Regions from separate parts of the Homo sapiens genome. Here all the other regions are linked to region 4. Evidence: promoter capture Hi-C in 16 types of primary human blood cells and fetal thymus (Javierre and others, 2016). All regions are on one chromosome and are shown on one strand. Each heading gives the region's core, a stretch centred on a gene start or on the middle of the fragment in contact. The rest is flanking DNA. Distances are from core to core; before and after follow the strand shown.

The links. The method cuts DNA at HindIII sites, captures the fragments that hold promoters and counts their contacts. A CHiCAGO score of 5 or more calls a contact.
Region 1: a fragment that was not itself captured here is called in contact with the fragment with the promoter of VIM in region 4 in 15 of 17 cell types (activated CD4 T cells, M0 macrophages, total CD8 T cells and 12 more); the score reaches 23.8 in activated CD4 T cells.
Region 2: a contact is called between a fragment that was not itself captured here and the fragment with the promoter of VIM in region 4, in 10 of 17 cell types (endothelial precursors, activated CD4 T cells, M0 macrophages and 7 more). The highest score is 12.2, in endothelial precursors.
Region 3: a contact is called between a fragment that was not itself captured here and the fragment with the promoter of VIM in region 4, in 14 of 17 cell types (activated CD4 T cells, naive CD8 T cells, M2 macrophages and 11 more). The highest score is 18.2, in activated CD4 T cells.

The regions. Positions count from the first base shown.
Region 1 is chr10:16,869,964-16,873,694 of GRCh38, reverse strand. The region is part of intron 58 of CUBN (cubilin); the gene reads left to right. Among named protein-coding and RNA genes, the nearest start is that of RSU1, 54 kb to the right of the region's middle. The HindIII fragment of the contact is 1,153 bases long and covers 1,886-3,038 here.
Region 2 is chr10:16,970,502-16,974,079 of GRCh38, reverse strand. The region is part of intron 31 of CUBN (cubilin); the gene reads left to right. Among named protein-coding and RNA genes, the nearest start is that of RSU1, 150 kb to the right of the region's middle. The HindIII fragment of the contact is 1,530 bases long and covers 1,173-2,702 here.
Region 3 is chr10:16,924,858-16,928,312 of GRCh38, reverse strand. CUBN (cubilin) reads left to right here. Exons shown (of 67, transcript NM_001081.4): 41 at 10-156; 42 at 2,539-2,729; 43 at 2,889-3,072. Among named protein-coding and RNA genes, the nearest start is that of RSU1, 110 kb to the right of the region's middle. The HindIII fragment of the contact is 5,679 bases long and covers 1-3,455 here.
Region 4 is chr10:17,225,992-17,229,490 of GRCh38, reverse strand. It overlaps VIM (vimentin), which reads right to left and starts at 1,250. Exons shown (of 10, transcript NM_003380.5): 1 at 967-1,250; 2 at 1-215. The coding sequence starts at 68. VIM-AS1 (VIM antisense RNA 1) reads left to right here. Exons shown (of 3, transcript NR_108061.1): 1 at 1-146. RefSeq lists a silencer at 2,557-2,771. The HindIII fragment of the contact is 5,594 bases long and covers 1-3,499 here.

The sequences.
Region 1 (3,731 bases), core at 1,213-3,712, 360 kb after region 4:
GCTGGAGTGTAGTGGCACAATCTCGGCTCACTGCAACCTCTGCCTCCCAGGTTCAAGAGATTCTCCTACCTCAGCCTCCTGAGTAGCTGGGATTACAGGCAGGCGCCACCATGCCCTGCTCAGTTTTGTATTTCTGGTAGCGACGGGGTTTCACCATGTTGGTCATGCTGGTCTCGAACTCCTGACCTCAAGTGATCCTCCCGCCTCGGCCTCCCATGGTGCTGGGATTACAGGCATGAGCCACCGCACCCAGCCTCAAAGGATACATTTTCTAACTACTTAAGAAATCTATTTTTATACCTGTGTCAGAACACCTCTAAACTGATGCTATGAGAGATAGCTTGAGTCACTGGTCAATTTTCTTCCCAGTCTTACCTATTCCCAACAAGACTGATGAGGGCAATGCAACCTCCCACTCTCCAGAATGATAAAGTTCAAGACTGTTTTCACCTGACAGCCTATTTCAGTGATATACGTATGGCATGTGGTGGGAAACTCTGACAGTAATATTGTTCATGGTCATGTAGGACTTTCCATACAGAAGCCTGATGGGCTAAGACCACACCTACCTACCTACCTACCTACCTACCTCCCCTCTATTTGTCTGTGATCATTTTCTACCCTAAAGATTCTGTACTCCCTGCAGTTTACTTCCAGAGGCCTCATGTATCAGTTGGCTCTCCAAGTGAACAAGAGATGTCTTGATGAAAGACATCTCTCATCAAGCCTGATTTGGTTCCTGTATCAGGCGTTCTATAGGCTGGACCTCGAAGAAAACTGCAGCTCTTACCTGGACTATTTGTAGGAAAACAGAGTGTCTTTTAGGTCTTGGGGACAAAAGAACAGAAACTGTCAGATGGCCAGGAGCAGGAGTTCTGTGAAGTATGCCTGCACAGGCGTGAAAGTGTAAGGGGGAGCCATTTGCTACTGTGACTCACTATTTGTTTCTCATATGTGTAGGATTGATTATTGCCTTGTTCTGTTCAGGTTGCTTTAACAAAATATCATAAACTGGGTGGCTTATAAACAACAAAAGGCTGCAAAAGTCCAAGGTCGAGGCAGATTCGTTGTCTGGTGAGCTCCTGTTTTCTGGCTTATAGAAGGTACCTTCTTGCTGTGTCTTCATGAGCTGGAAGGGCCTCTTATAAAACACTAATCCCATTTGTGAGGGGTCCTCCCCCATGACCTAATCACCTCCCATAGGCCCCACTTCCTATACCATTAGCTTAGGGAACATATGAATTTAGGGGAACACAAACATTCCAACCATGGTATACATACCAACTCATAGAGGTATGTTATATATTCTCTCTCTCTTTATCTGTCTATCTATCTATATATATATGTATGTATACAATCTAAATGTATTTTTTCAGTTTTCAGCCTGGATCCTGGAGCTCACCATAATGAAATTTACATCTGCATGTTTATTTTATTTTACTTATTTATTTATTTGAGACTAGCTCTCACTCTGTCGCCCAGGCTGGAGTGCAGTGGCGTGATCTCAGCTCACTGCAACCTCCACCTGCTGGGTTCAAGCGATTCTCCCACCTTAGCCTCCTGAGTAGCTGGGACTACAGGTGTGTGCCACCAGCCTGGGTAATTTTTTCTTTTGTATATATATATATATTTAGTAGAGATGGAGTTTTGCCATGTTGGCCAGGCTGGTCTTGAATCCCTGACCTCAAGTGGTCCACCTGCCTCGGCCTCCCAAAGTGCTGGGATTGCAGGTGTGAGCCACCACACCCAGCCTACATCTGCAGGTTTAGAAAATTATTTATTGCGCACTAAGAGCCTACATTCTAGGAAACAGATAAGATTCTAGGTGTGGTAGAAGATGCAGACATTAATAAAAGGCTCTCAAAAGATTGTGGTTACACAAGCTTTTCTGTCAATGGGCTTTTCAGATCTCTTCTGTGCTCTCCTGGGAAAATGATGTAAAATAAAAAGCCAAAGCAGATTTAAGTCCTCTTAGAAACTCAGATTTTATCTCTCTTTGTGGATTCTTTTTGTGAAAAATAAATGTGTTGTCTGTAGAGAATTAAAATGAATACAGTGTTGTTGGAAATTATCTAGCTATTGTTCTTCCCTGATCTTTTACAATAACATTAAATGTTAAATGTGGTAAAAGAAAATCAATACGGTTTTCATCTTGTTCCTCATCAGTCTGAAAACCTTCAACCAACCAAAACCTTTTAGAAAAAAAACCAACAATTTTTTTTCTCAAGGCTGTTGAAAGGAAGCATTTATTATATATTTTATATATAAATATATATTATTTAGTCTATATTTTCAAAATTATTCCATATTATGGATTGTTTATTAGAGCTACTGCCAAAATAAATTGAAAATGCAGGCTGGGCATGGTGTCCCATGCCTGTAATCCCAGCACAGGGAGGCTGAGGCAGGCAGGTCACCTGAGGTCAGAAGTTCAAGACCAGCCTGGCCAACATGGCAGAAACCTCATCTCTACTAAAAAATATACATGTAATTAAAAAAAATAGCCAGGCATGGTGGTGGACACCTGTAATCCCAGCTACTCGGGAGGGTGAGGCAAGAGAATCACTTGAACCAGGGAGGCAGAGGTTGCAGTGAGCTGAGATTGTGCCACTGCACTCCAGCCTGTGCAACAGAGTGAGACTCTGTCTCAAAAAAAAAAAGAAAAAGCAGAAGAACCTATAAAAATGAGGACAGGATATCAAATATTATTTTTTTAAACAAGTTTTAAAAATAAGCTATAATAAACCCACCACAAAACTCTAAAGTAAATCCATGTAAGAAGCCTTGCTTGTTCAGGAACTCTAGAAATCGTTATTTGAAATGACAAAGAATAAGACCTGAATTAAACACTGTATAAGACAGAGAAAAGTTAGGGATGCATCTGTCAGGATAGGTTATGCACATAGTAACAAACAACTCCACCTCACAGCAGCTTAACTCAACAAGTTGATTTCTCATTGTAATGAGCATGTTCAGTGTGGCCTGGCATGGAAGCTCTGCTCATCGTGGTCATCCAACAACCCAGGCTGATGGAAGCTTCGTTTTTACATTTGCTTCCATGATCATCACTGCAGTGGGAAGGCAGTGTGGCAAAGCAAGTAGTCATTTGTAAAGCTTCTTCCGTAAAGTAATATGTATCCCTTCTGCTTACATTTCTGTGGTCAAAGCAACTCCTAGCAGCCATGTCAAGCCTCAAAGTGTGCCCCTAGGGCAATCCTACCAGTGCTGGGGAGGCAGAGAGCTGGGACCATGTGCAGAAGTGTCAGTGACCACCACAGAGGTCTTAAATGTAAATTTCCTGTTCTTCACCTGACCTTAACATAAACTTCATTTTAAAAGAGGAAAATGAGACTGTGAGGAGAATGGAGCTGTGATTCTAAAAGCAGCATTTCTTCTATTATATTAACATGCTTCCCATAAGTTCTACTTCATCTCATAAAATAACAAGGGAAGAGTAAATATGGTATTTTTAATGAGACCTAAAAAACTAAAGTATTGCTGGGATAGTAAATATCAGTTCAACTTGTCAAAAGTTGTTCTCAGATGGACTTTAATATGCCCTAGACTGTGAATTCCTTGAAAAGTAAGACTGTATCTTACTCACTTTGACATCCCCAGCTGCTGTCACAGTTTTTGTTGTATTGTAATTACTAAAAACAAATTTGGCTAAACTTTTGAACTGATCAGTAAAGTACTGTTTGATTTCTAATATTTCATATCAAGTGAGTTTT
Region 2 (3,578 bases), core at 688-3,187, 260 kb after region 4:
AGCCATTATGATGCTGCTGATGGTGAGTGTTTTGGGGGAGGTTCATTTAATGAGGACTAGAAGAAGAGACAGCGCGGAATACTAGGAGCAGAAATGCACTTAGAAGTCAGAGTCAGACATGCATGCCCGTGTTCATCGCGGCACTGTCCACGATAGCAAAGGCATGGAATCAACCTAGATGCCCATCAATGGTGGATGGGATGAAGAAAACGTGCTACGTATACACCAGGGAATGTGACACAGCCACAAGAATGAACAAGACCATGTCCTTTTCAGCAACATGGATGGAGCTGGAGGCCATAATCCTAAATGAAGTAACACAGGAACAGAAAACTAAATACTGCATGTTCTCACTCAGGAGTGGGAGCTAAACACTGAGTACATATGGACACAAAGAAGGGAACAACAGGCGCCAGGGCCTACTTGAGGTTGGAAGCTGGGAGGAGGGAGCAAGTTGAAAACCACCCATCACGTTCTTTGCTCATTACCTGGGTGACAAAATAGACTGTACACCAAACCCCCATGACAGGCAATTTACCTCTATAGCAAACCTGCACATGGACCCTTGAACCTAAGGTGAAAGGTTTTTAGAAAAAGAAGTCAGGGTCAGGACTTGCCGTCTGTAATTCTGGGCCTCAAGCTCTTAAGCAGAAGAGCCCACTTTCGAATCTTCCTCGTAGTATAGCACCTAGGATTTAGCATATCTAGGGCTCAGTGCTCTGGAATCATTGTGAAAATGGCCGACATCATTCATTTGGGCCTGGAAGCCAGGGAAGCGTTCACACTGGAGGCGACATTTAAGTGGCAGAGTCTCGCCAGTAGAAATGCAGCAGTGAGGCCACGAGGGGAGGCTGCAAGGGAAGGATGGGGAAATGGTGCACGCACATTTGGGAATAAAAAATGAGAGTGTTGTCCCTGGAGCGTGAAGAAATGCCGGGGAGCATGTGGAGACCAAGGGGCTACAGAAGACATCTGAGCTCTCTTCTGCTCCAGTTAAGAATTTGAAATTATCCTATAGGTAGTATGGAGTCAGTGAAAATTTTCTGTAAAACGGGAATAACATACTCAGAGCTGTATTCTACAGTGACAACAGGCAGCAGTGTGTGAAGAATGGCTTGGCAGAGAAAAAGAAAGATGGTAGCATGTCTGTTTGGGAAGCAATGGAAAAAGCTTGGATCAGAGGTGATAAGGTCTCATAGTAGGCAGTGGTCTTGGGACACATGGAGAGCGCAGGGACACGTGGAGAACTGTCACGGTGGCAGTCACTAGAATTAGAGGCTAATTACATGGTGGTGGGTGGGGCTGGTGATAGAGATGGTGGGGGGAAGCCTATTTGCTTGAAGAATGAATGAATGGCCGGGAGTGATGGCTCATACCTGTAATTCCAGCACTTTGGGAGGCCGAGACAGGAGAATTGTTTGAGCTCAGGAGTTTGACACCAGCCTGGACCCCATCTCTGCAAAAAAATTAAAAAATTAGCCTGGCCAAGTGGCACATACCTGTATTCCCAGTAACTCAGGAGGTTGAGGTGGGAGGATGGCTTGAGCATGGGAGGTCGAGGCTGCGGTGAGCTGTGATCACACCACTGTACTCCAGCCTGGGTGACAGCATGACCCTGTTTCAAAAAAAAAAAAAATTGTGAATGATGAGGCCATTAACTGAGTAAAGGGAGTAGATGATAGTGAGTTTGACTTGTAAACTTTTGGGTTTAAATATTATATAGTTTGACATAAGAGTTCAGAGCTTGGGATAGGATCTGAGCTAGACATATACAATTGAGGATAATTTCTGTATATTGGGTGGTTATTAAAGTTGTGGGAGTAGGTATGATCACTTTTAGGAGTATTTTACCAAGAGAAAGGGGCCAAGCCAACTCCTGGGGAAACACTGCCATGTAACGGGTGGATGAAAGATCAGAGGAGAGGAGGCTGAGGAGGTGCGCTGAGTGCTTGGTGGAGAACCAGAAGAGAGTGGTAGCATTCAAACCACGAGGGAAGCTGAATTTCAAGGGTGGGTGATCAAAGGTATCAAATCCCATGCAGGATGCCAACGAGCGTGAGGATTGCAACAAAGCCCCTGGATTCCGTCTTTAATAACCTGCAAGGAGCAGGATTGTGGCGGGTGGTGGTGGAAGACTCAAGGTCACAGTGGTTAGGAGGTGCAGGAGCTTCTGAGCTTTTCCCCAGAGTTACGGAAATGAGTGGCATAAGGAGAAAATGGGCAGTAACCAATGGGTTAACCAAAATCAGTGGAGAGTTGGTTTTTTAAAAAAAATGGAGAAATATAAGTTGTGTGAAGAGGGCAGGTGGAAAAAGAGCAGCTGAATGTGAGAGCCAGGCGAACAGTAGAGAAAATCATGTTTTCAGGACAGAGACACCAAGAAGCGCCAGATTGGTTCTATGAATGTTGTACTTTTTAGAATAAGAAATTGAAACCCATGGCTTGGCACAAGATTTTTCTGATTTATAAATTCATTATGTTAAAAATTGCATAAATTGTATACAAACTAAGTCATTTTTTCTTGGATGATTTATAAATCAACTTTACAAAAAGATAAGGAAGTTTTAAAAGAAAACAAGACTGTCCAGGTAAGTTGGGGTAGAGATCTGCTATATATTTGCCAAATGTGCCCACTTAAGGGGACAGGAGGTCTGCAGAGGTTTGGAACCAGACCAGGCAATGCCCTGGCAAGGCTGGAAGCTTGTTAGTTAGTTGTCCAGGGATTCATGAAGGCCGGAGTTGAAGCACCAGCCCTCTATCTTTACAGCCAGATGGACACTGGACGGGAAACGTACCCCAAAGTCCAACATCTTACATAATATCTCTGCAGTCTCAGTTCATATAAAGCCAATCCTTCATTTTGGAGACATTCAAGTTAATGTCCTGGTCCTGTTGCTTAGACAGAGTTATTAGCAAAGAGAAAAATATTCAGTTGCCAGTGATGCTGTCAGATAATGTTGGGGTTCAGGAGATTTTTAACAGAGTTCAAGTGTACTCTTTAAATACCAGTGAAAATTATGCTGGAATGGGACCAGCCATCCTGTTTTTTCAAAACTTCTATAACAATTTGGGTTGTTAGAAGAAGAAATAGTAATTTAGCTGTATGTTAAATATGATTTCACATATGATTAACTGTCATAAACCTATAGATACATAGAATGTTAAGGTTGGAAGAAGAAAGCTTAGAGTTCGTTTGCTGTTGTCACCTAATTTTTTAAAAAAAGACATTGAGGTGGAGGTGGGGCAGTGCAAAAAATAAAAATTAATTAAAAAATAAAAAAGATACTGAGATCCAGAAATGTCAGGGTCAAGGCTAAGTAGAAATTAACAGCAGGATCAGCACTAAAACGAAAGCCTTATGCTTCCTACGAAGTGAATAAGTATTTTGGTAAAATATAAAAATTGCAGTTATGTACAGGATACGGAATGGCAGACTAGAAAAATAGAGGGAGAAAATAAATTTAGGGTCAGGCTGGAGCCACTTTGATTTTTTTTTTTTTTTTGAGATGGAGTTTCACTCTTGTTGCCCAGGCTGGAGTGCAAAGGTGTGATCTCAGCTCACTGCGACCTCCACCTCC
Region 3 (3,455 bases), core at 608-3,107, 300 kb after region 4:
TCAACGTAGGAGATAATAACTTGGCCCAGCAGCTAGCAGTTCTCTGTGGCAGAGAGATCCCTGGGCCCATCCGGTCTACTGGAGAGTACATGTTCATCCGCTTCACCTCGGACTCCAGTGTAACCAGGGCAGGCTTCAATGCATCCTTTCACAAGAGTAATGAGTTCAAATATTTTTTAATCCCATGTTATCTCATCTCCTCTCTTTTCCTCTCTCTTTCTCTCTTCCTAATATAATGTTTTTGGGCACCAGGACACAAGACAAGTCAGAGGACATGGGTCTCTGCCCAGGCTCTGGATGGCTGGCTCCCCTTACATCAGTGCTGAGTCCTCATCCAAAGCACTGGGGCCAAGTCGTACAAAAGTGTGCTGCCTTCAGGTCTCTGGTGTGGCATCTTCGCTCCAAAGGAGGTGTGTCCAGGGAATGCATGAGAGAGAGCTTTAAAGCAATTTTTCAGCCTAGCTGAGGGCTGGAACTAGATAGAGCACAGCTCATATCCATAACTCATCGAAGGAGCAAAACGTCATCATTTATTCTCATAAATTACTTGGTTGAAGTCAGCCATCTGAGGGTTGGCAGGAAGAGTTTGTTGCTCTTGAAATATGAATTTGATGAGTCAAAAGCGGGCACCATATATGGGATACCATCATGCACAGTATGATTGAGACTTTTCAAACTTGACATGTGAAGTCCAGTAACAGCCTTAAATCCAAACTAACTGAAAGGTGATAAAGTAGTCCAAGGAAGAGTGAAAGACTCTCATGTTTTGATCAAAAAACATAATTTTAAAGTAGATTCTCAATCTAACATTAAAAATTAATCTAATATTTCCTCCATGCTTATATATACCTTTTATAAAGTAGGGAGCAACTGAAGATAAGTTGTGTTCCTCACGCTCAAGGGAGGCAGGCTGCATAGTGGCTTAAGAGCATGGGCTTTGGAACTAGACCTAAGATACATTTTCACCTCTACAATTTAACTAGCTGTGTGAGATGTCTGCCCTTACTGATGAGCTTCTGGTCCCTGACAACTGGAGAATTAATGCCTCCTCCTTTTATCCTCTTCCTTTATCTCCTGCCCTCTCACTCTCATGTATATATTACTATGTATCGCAACTCATTATACATACATACATGTATACACATGTATGTATATAGTAAGGGTGGAACCATTGGAATTAATATGTGTGTTTATATATGTATATAATATATATAAATATGTGTGTGTGTCTATGTATATATACATACTTGGCAGCTCCCGGTCTAGAATGTATTTCAAATTTAACCTGTGAGTGGTATAATGGACTTTGGAGACTCAGAAGTGGGGAGGATGGGTGGGGTATGAGGGATAAAAAACTACATATTAGGTGTAATGTATACTAGTCAGGGAACCAGTGCACTAAAATATAGACTTCACCAGTATGCAATTCATCCATGTAACGAAAAACCACTTGTATCCCAATTAGACTAGATAGATAGATAGATAGATAGATAGATAGATAGAAAAAAAAATTTCACCTTTGAAAGTTGAACACTTTATTCCCACCCTTTTCCATGCCACCACCCCCCAATTCTACACTCCTCATAATCTCAGCAAATGGAAAGTACATTTTTCTCATTATTTAAGTCAAAATCTTGATGTTATTTTTGACTTTTCTGTTTGTCTCACACTTAACCATCAACAAATCACACTGGCTCTACCCTCACAATGTATCTAGATTCCAACCACGCCTCTCCATTTCTGTTGCTACCAGCCTAGCCCGTGCACCTATCATCTCTCCTTGGCCTCAGGCGGTCCCCTCCTTATTGGACACTCTGCTCCTGTCCTTCCCTGTCCTCCACCCCTTACAGTCTAAGGACTGCACATAGAGTGACATTTTCAAACTTAAGTGAGATCATGCCATTCTGATGCCCAAAACCCTTCAACATCTTCCTCTTCTTATTCAGAATAAGTCTTTTCAGTTTCCTGCATGACCTAGCCATGCTACCTTTGGAATCTCTCATTCTGCCTCATCCATTCTGACTTCCATGATGTACCTCTAACACATCAAGCCTTTACACTGTTTTCTGAACTGGAATGTTTTCTCCCCCATAACTATCTGGCTTGATCCTTCATTTCATTCATGTCTCTGCTAAGATGTTACTCCAATGACGTGGCTTTTCTAACTTAACTCTAACAATAAAGTACCCTTCTCCCTCCTCTCATCCATTTTTCTTTATAGAATTTATCACCATCTCACATATCATGTATTTGTTTATTGTATGTCTTCCCCATCTATAAAGAAATCTTTATGAAAGCAGGTAATTTGTCTTGTTTACTTACCTCTGTATCCCAGATCTCAATGACCACCACAAACTGAGTAGCCAATAGCATGTGCTCAATACATGCTTGTTATGATAATCATTTCCTGCACTCTGGCTTTATTTTCAAGCATTTTTATTGCCTCCACTTTGAAAACCCCCCAAGAAAACTAAGAAAGCATAAAAATCCAGTTGCCAATGCTATTTAAATAACCGACCTTTGTTTCTTTGTGGGAAGGCTGCGGTGGATATTTGCATGCAGACAGAGGGATCATCACGTCCCCCAAGTATCCAGAGACTTACCCATCCAACCTCAACTGTTCTTGGCACGTCCTGGTCCAAAGTGGCCTGACCATTGCTGTCCATTTTGAACAGCCTTTCCAGATTCCAAATGGAGATTCTTCTTGCAACCAGGGGGATTACTTGGTGGTAGGTCTTGCTGCTACCCTTTCTAATTACATTTTCCATAGACTTCATTCAGAAAACAAAATGATAATTTTTCTCTCCTGGGACATAAATGGATAAGAATTGCGTACTCCTTCTTTTGCAATGTAAAGGAGTTGATGAAATTTTAATTTGTCTTTCCAGCTAAGAAATGGTCCTGATATCTGTTCTCCACCCTTGGGACCCCCTGGAGGAAATGGTCATTTTTGTGGCAGTCATGCTTCATCAACTCTGTTCACCTCGGATAATCAAATGTTTGTTCAGTTTATTTCTGATCACAGTAATGAAGGGCAAGGATTTAAAATCAAATATGAGGCAAAGAGTTTAGGTAAGTATTTTCACTGAGAATTATATCTGCTTTTCCTGCAATTGCTTGATCTTCTTTGATATAAAATTTTCTTTTCTGAACCAACAGTAATAGAATTAATAAGAATGCCTACTCTCAAGTACTTATTATATTTGATACATTCAATATCTCATCGTGACTACTTTTCAAGTAAAGTATCATTATTTCCATTTTAAAGATAAATAAAATGAGGCTTGGACTTTTCCAAGGCCACATACCTAATTAGTGACCAAAGTGAAATTTTCCATGAGTATAAAATAAACTATTCTTCTTGATCCCTGGAATTCCTTAGACCTTTCCATTATAAGATGTCTAATTGTAAGTTAATTCTAGTTACAGAAACATTATAAGACTTACATTTGCCT
Region 4 (3,499 bases), core at 1-2,500:
CGGCTCGCGGTGCCCGGGCCGCCGAACATCCTGCGGTAGGAGGACGAGGACACGGACCTGGTGGACATGGCTGCGGAGGGTGGCGATGGCCTGGGCGGCGGCGGTGGCGCGGACTGGCTCCCGGAGAAGAGGCGAACGAGGGCGCGGTGGGTGTGGGTGGTGGGAGCGCGGCTGCGTCTCTGGCGCGGGGACCTCGGAGCGAGAGTGGCAGAGGACTGGACCCCGCCGAGGGCGCTGTTTTTATAACCCCGTTAGGAAAGAGGGTCCCCTCCCACTGCCATCCCAGCCGCGGAGCGCGCCAGCCAATAGGGACCTAGCGAGAAGCGGGGAGGGTGGGCGGGTGGGGTGGGGGCGCCCTCGAGCCTTCCTGCTCCGGGGCCTGGGACTGGGCATGGTCCCGTTACTTCAGCGCTGGGCTGGGACTTTTGGGGGCTTTCCGGATGATAGTCTGAGCTGGGCTCACCCTGGGGTGCTGAAAAAGGCGGGGTCGCGCGGTGAGGGGGGGGTCCGCCTGGGACTGAACCAGAGGGGTCCGGTGGCACCACGCCAAAGGGGCGTGGGAGGAGGTGCGCGGCGGTCTCGGGGCTGCGGTCAGGCGGGGAGACCCGCGGGCAAAGGAGCGGGAAGAGGAAAGAGTAAGGAATCCCTCAGATCTGAAGTCGCGGAGAAAGAAACAAAGAGCGCCTGAGATTGGAACGCGGGGTGGGGGCGCGCACAGCGCAGGAACGCAGGGCTCAGGCCTCGCCGCAGCCTCGCGCGCCGCCCGCTTGGAAAGGGGGGCTGCTCCGGCCCGCGCCTCTGTCCATCGACTTGCCTTGGCGGAGAGATGTTGGGGGGAGGGGAGGTTCTGTCGAGGGACCTAACGGGCTCAGTCCAGCTTCGGACGGCGGGAGTTGCGAGACGGCGGTGGCAGAGGAAAGCCCGAGGGAGAGGGGTGGGGTCGCTTAGTCACCGGCGGTGACTCACCGCGCCCTGCTGTCCCGCCGATTGAGGGCTCCTAGCGGTTTAGGGGAAACCGTTAGACCAGATTGATTCAAGTCTCAGCGGGCTCCGCGCGCGCTGCTAGTTCTCAGTGCTACCAACTTACAGCTGGGCCATCGCCTTGCTGTGTGCGGTCGGGCCCTGTGGGGGACAAGAGCGCCCCTAAGTTTTTAATAACTCGCTAAAGCCTGTCTTTGCTCGAATGTGCGGACTTTTTGTTAGCAAGAAACTTCTGCAGCCTTTGGAGAGGCGCCATACGTGGGCCTCCCAGATCACGATTGCACCGGGAAGGTTTTTCTTGCAGAGTCCCCGCCCCCGTCCCTCTGGTCTCCTCTCGCTCTTCCCCCTCCCCCCATGAAACCACACCCAACTTTTTAAACAAGATCTGAAAATTCTGGGTGAAAGAGGAAACTCGACGTCCGTAGTTTCAAAATAGAACTCAGTGATCAGTGGTTTTTACCCTGGTGGAAGTCATTAAAGGTATAATATGAGCCAGTTAAAGAATTAATTAGGTGTTGCTTAAAAACCCCAATTTGATTAATGAGTTCAAATGAAAGGCAATTATGTAACACAAATGACAGAATCTTTGGCGGCAATAGATTTATGTGTTAATTTTAGGACAGCAATGCACAGTACAGGGTTCACGGTGATTTGTCTGGGAAATGCCATAGGTCCTGTTTTCCAAAAGAATTCGTGCAATTGACCTTGGGGTGAGGGGGATAAAACTGTCTACGCAGCAAAAAACTTCGTGTCCAAGACATGGAGGGAGTGTTCAGATTCGGTCACCTTAACCTTTCTAGGGAAATCACTCAATTCAAGGGCTGTTGTTTCAATATTAGTAACGAGCAGAGCTGAGTACTTACCCGCCAAGGGAGATAAAAGGAGACTATGTAAATCAGTCTTCTCGTGATTTAGTAGCAATTGAAAAGGCACAGGTTTTTTTGAGTATTTAGATTTATGGTGTACTGAAAGGATTAACTGCAGAACCACTGTAAAATTGATTCTGCAGTGGATAGGAGAAAAAAAAGTATTTCTCTCTTTTTTTTTGGTGGCGGCAGGGGGTACTGCAGGTTACTTGGTATTTAAGAAACATAATTTAGAGGTAAATGAAGAGCGTATTCTGACTTCTTTGGACAAGCCTCTTTTAGGCAATATTTTGTTTACCTTATCCCAGTTCGTTCTTGCAAATGGTGCTTGCCAAGGTGGAATTACAGGACTCTCTACTGCCCAGCTCGCCTGCTGGGGCTTTCTTTTATTCTCTCTTTCACTGGGAGGCTGCAGGTCATTCCCCAAGAGCATTCCTGGGGCTGGGTGCCCTGGAGGACAAGCCTATGCTCTGAGTTACATCTTGCTTTCTGAGAGCCCTTTATTCAAGCCACTGCTCAGCAAATGCCACCATTGTGAGTGTGCCTGGAACCCTTAGAATGAGAAAAGTGATCTCCCTATGGGAGGAAGAGAGTGTGGAACTCACTTCTACGTGCAGTGCCGATCCCAGGGCAATGCGACGCTTGCTGACTGACTCACTATGGAAAAGGAGGACAAGGCATTGGCGAGGTGTGGCACTGTGCCCTGCTGGTGCCCATAGCCGATTCCTCAGGGCTGCGGTGATGTCTCCTGGAATGGGCACTGGTCCTCTTCATCATCTCAGGGATAGGTAGCTCCTCCTTCCAACCTGTCCCCATTCTGAAGTCTCTGGGCTGTGATAGGCTGCTCTCTTGTCACAGACATATGTTTGTTTGATGCATATAGAATGTATAAAAGTGTAGGTGTTCTGTAGTCCCAGCACTTTGGGAGGCCAAAGCAGGAGGATTGCTTGAGATCAGGAGTTTGAGACCAGCTTAGGCAACATATATATATGAAACCAAAAAAAGCCAGGCGTGATGGTGCACACCTGTGGTCCCAGCTACTTGGGAGACTAAGGCAGGGGGATTGCTTGAGCCTGGGAAATTGAGGCTGCAGTAGGCTGTGCACACCACTGCACTCCACCCTGTGCAACAGAGTGAGAACCTGTCTCAAAATAAAGTATATGTATGTACTACACACACATATACATACGCACATATACAGCGTTCAATGTGTTTTTCCTATTAGAAAATGCCATTGTTTTTGGTGGGCTGCAAGAGAAGTGAAAGTTGCAGAAACACTTTCATTCATTCATGTAGAATTCATGAGACTTAAGAATTCATTTCATTCTGAGATAAGATATACAGTGCCTCAATCAATGGGTGATAGTTTTCAGTCAGGGAGATCAATGAATCTGAACTCACATCCTTGAGTGAGACAACTCAGCCTGCTCTCTATGCTACTGTGTTCTTAGGTATCTTTTGGGTACACAGACATAGCTTTCCCGGGTTTTGTGTTTATTTTTTAATTGCTATGAAAACCTATCTGAGAAGTATTTTCAAGTGCTGGACTGGGAAGCTGCTTTCAACACAGCATGATGCAAGTTGCATATAAATAAAGACGTGGTGGTATAATTCATAGGCCAGGCATAAACACTACCACATCTAAATTACCA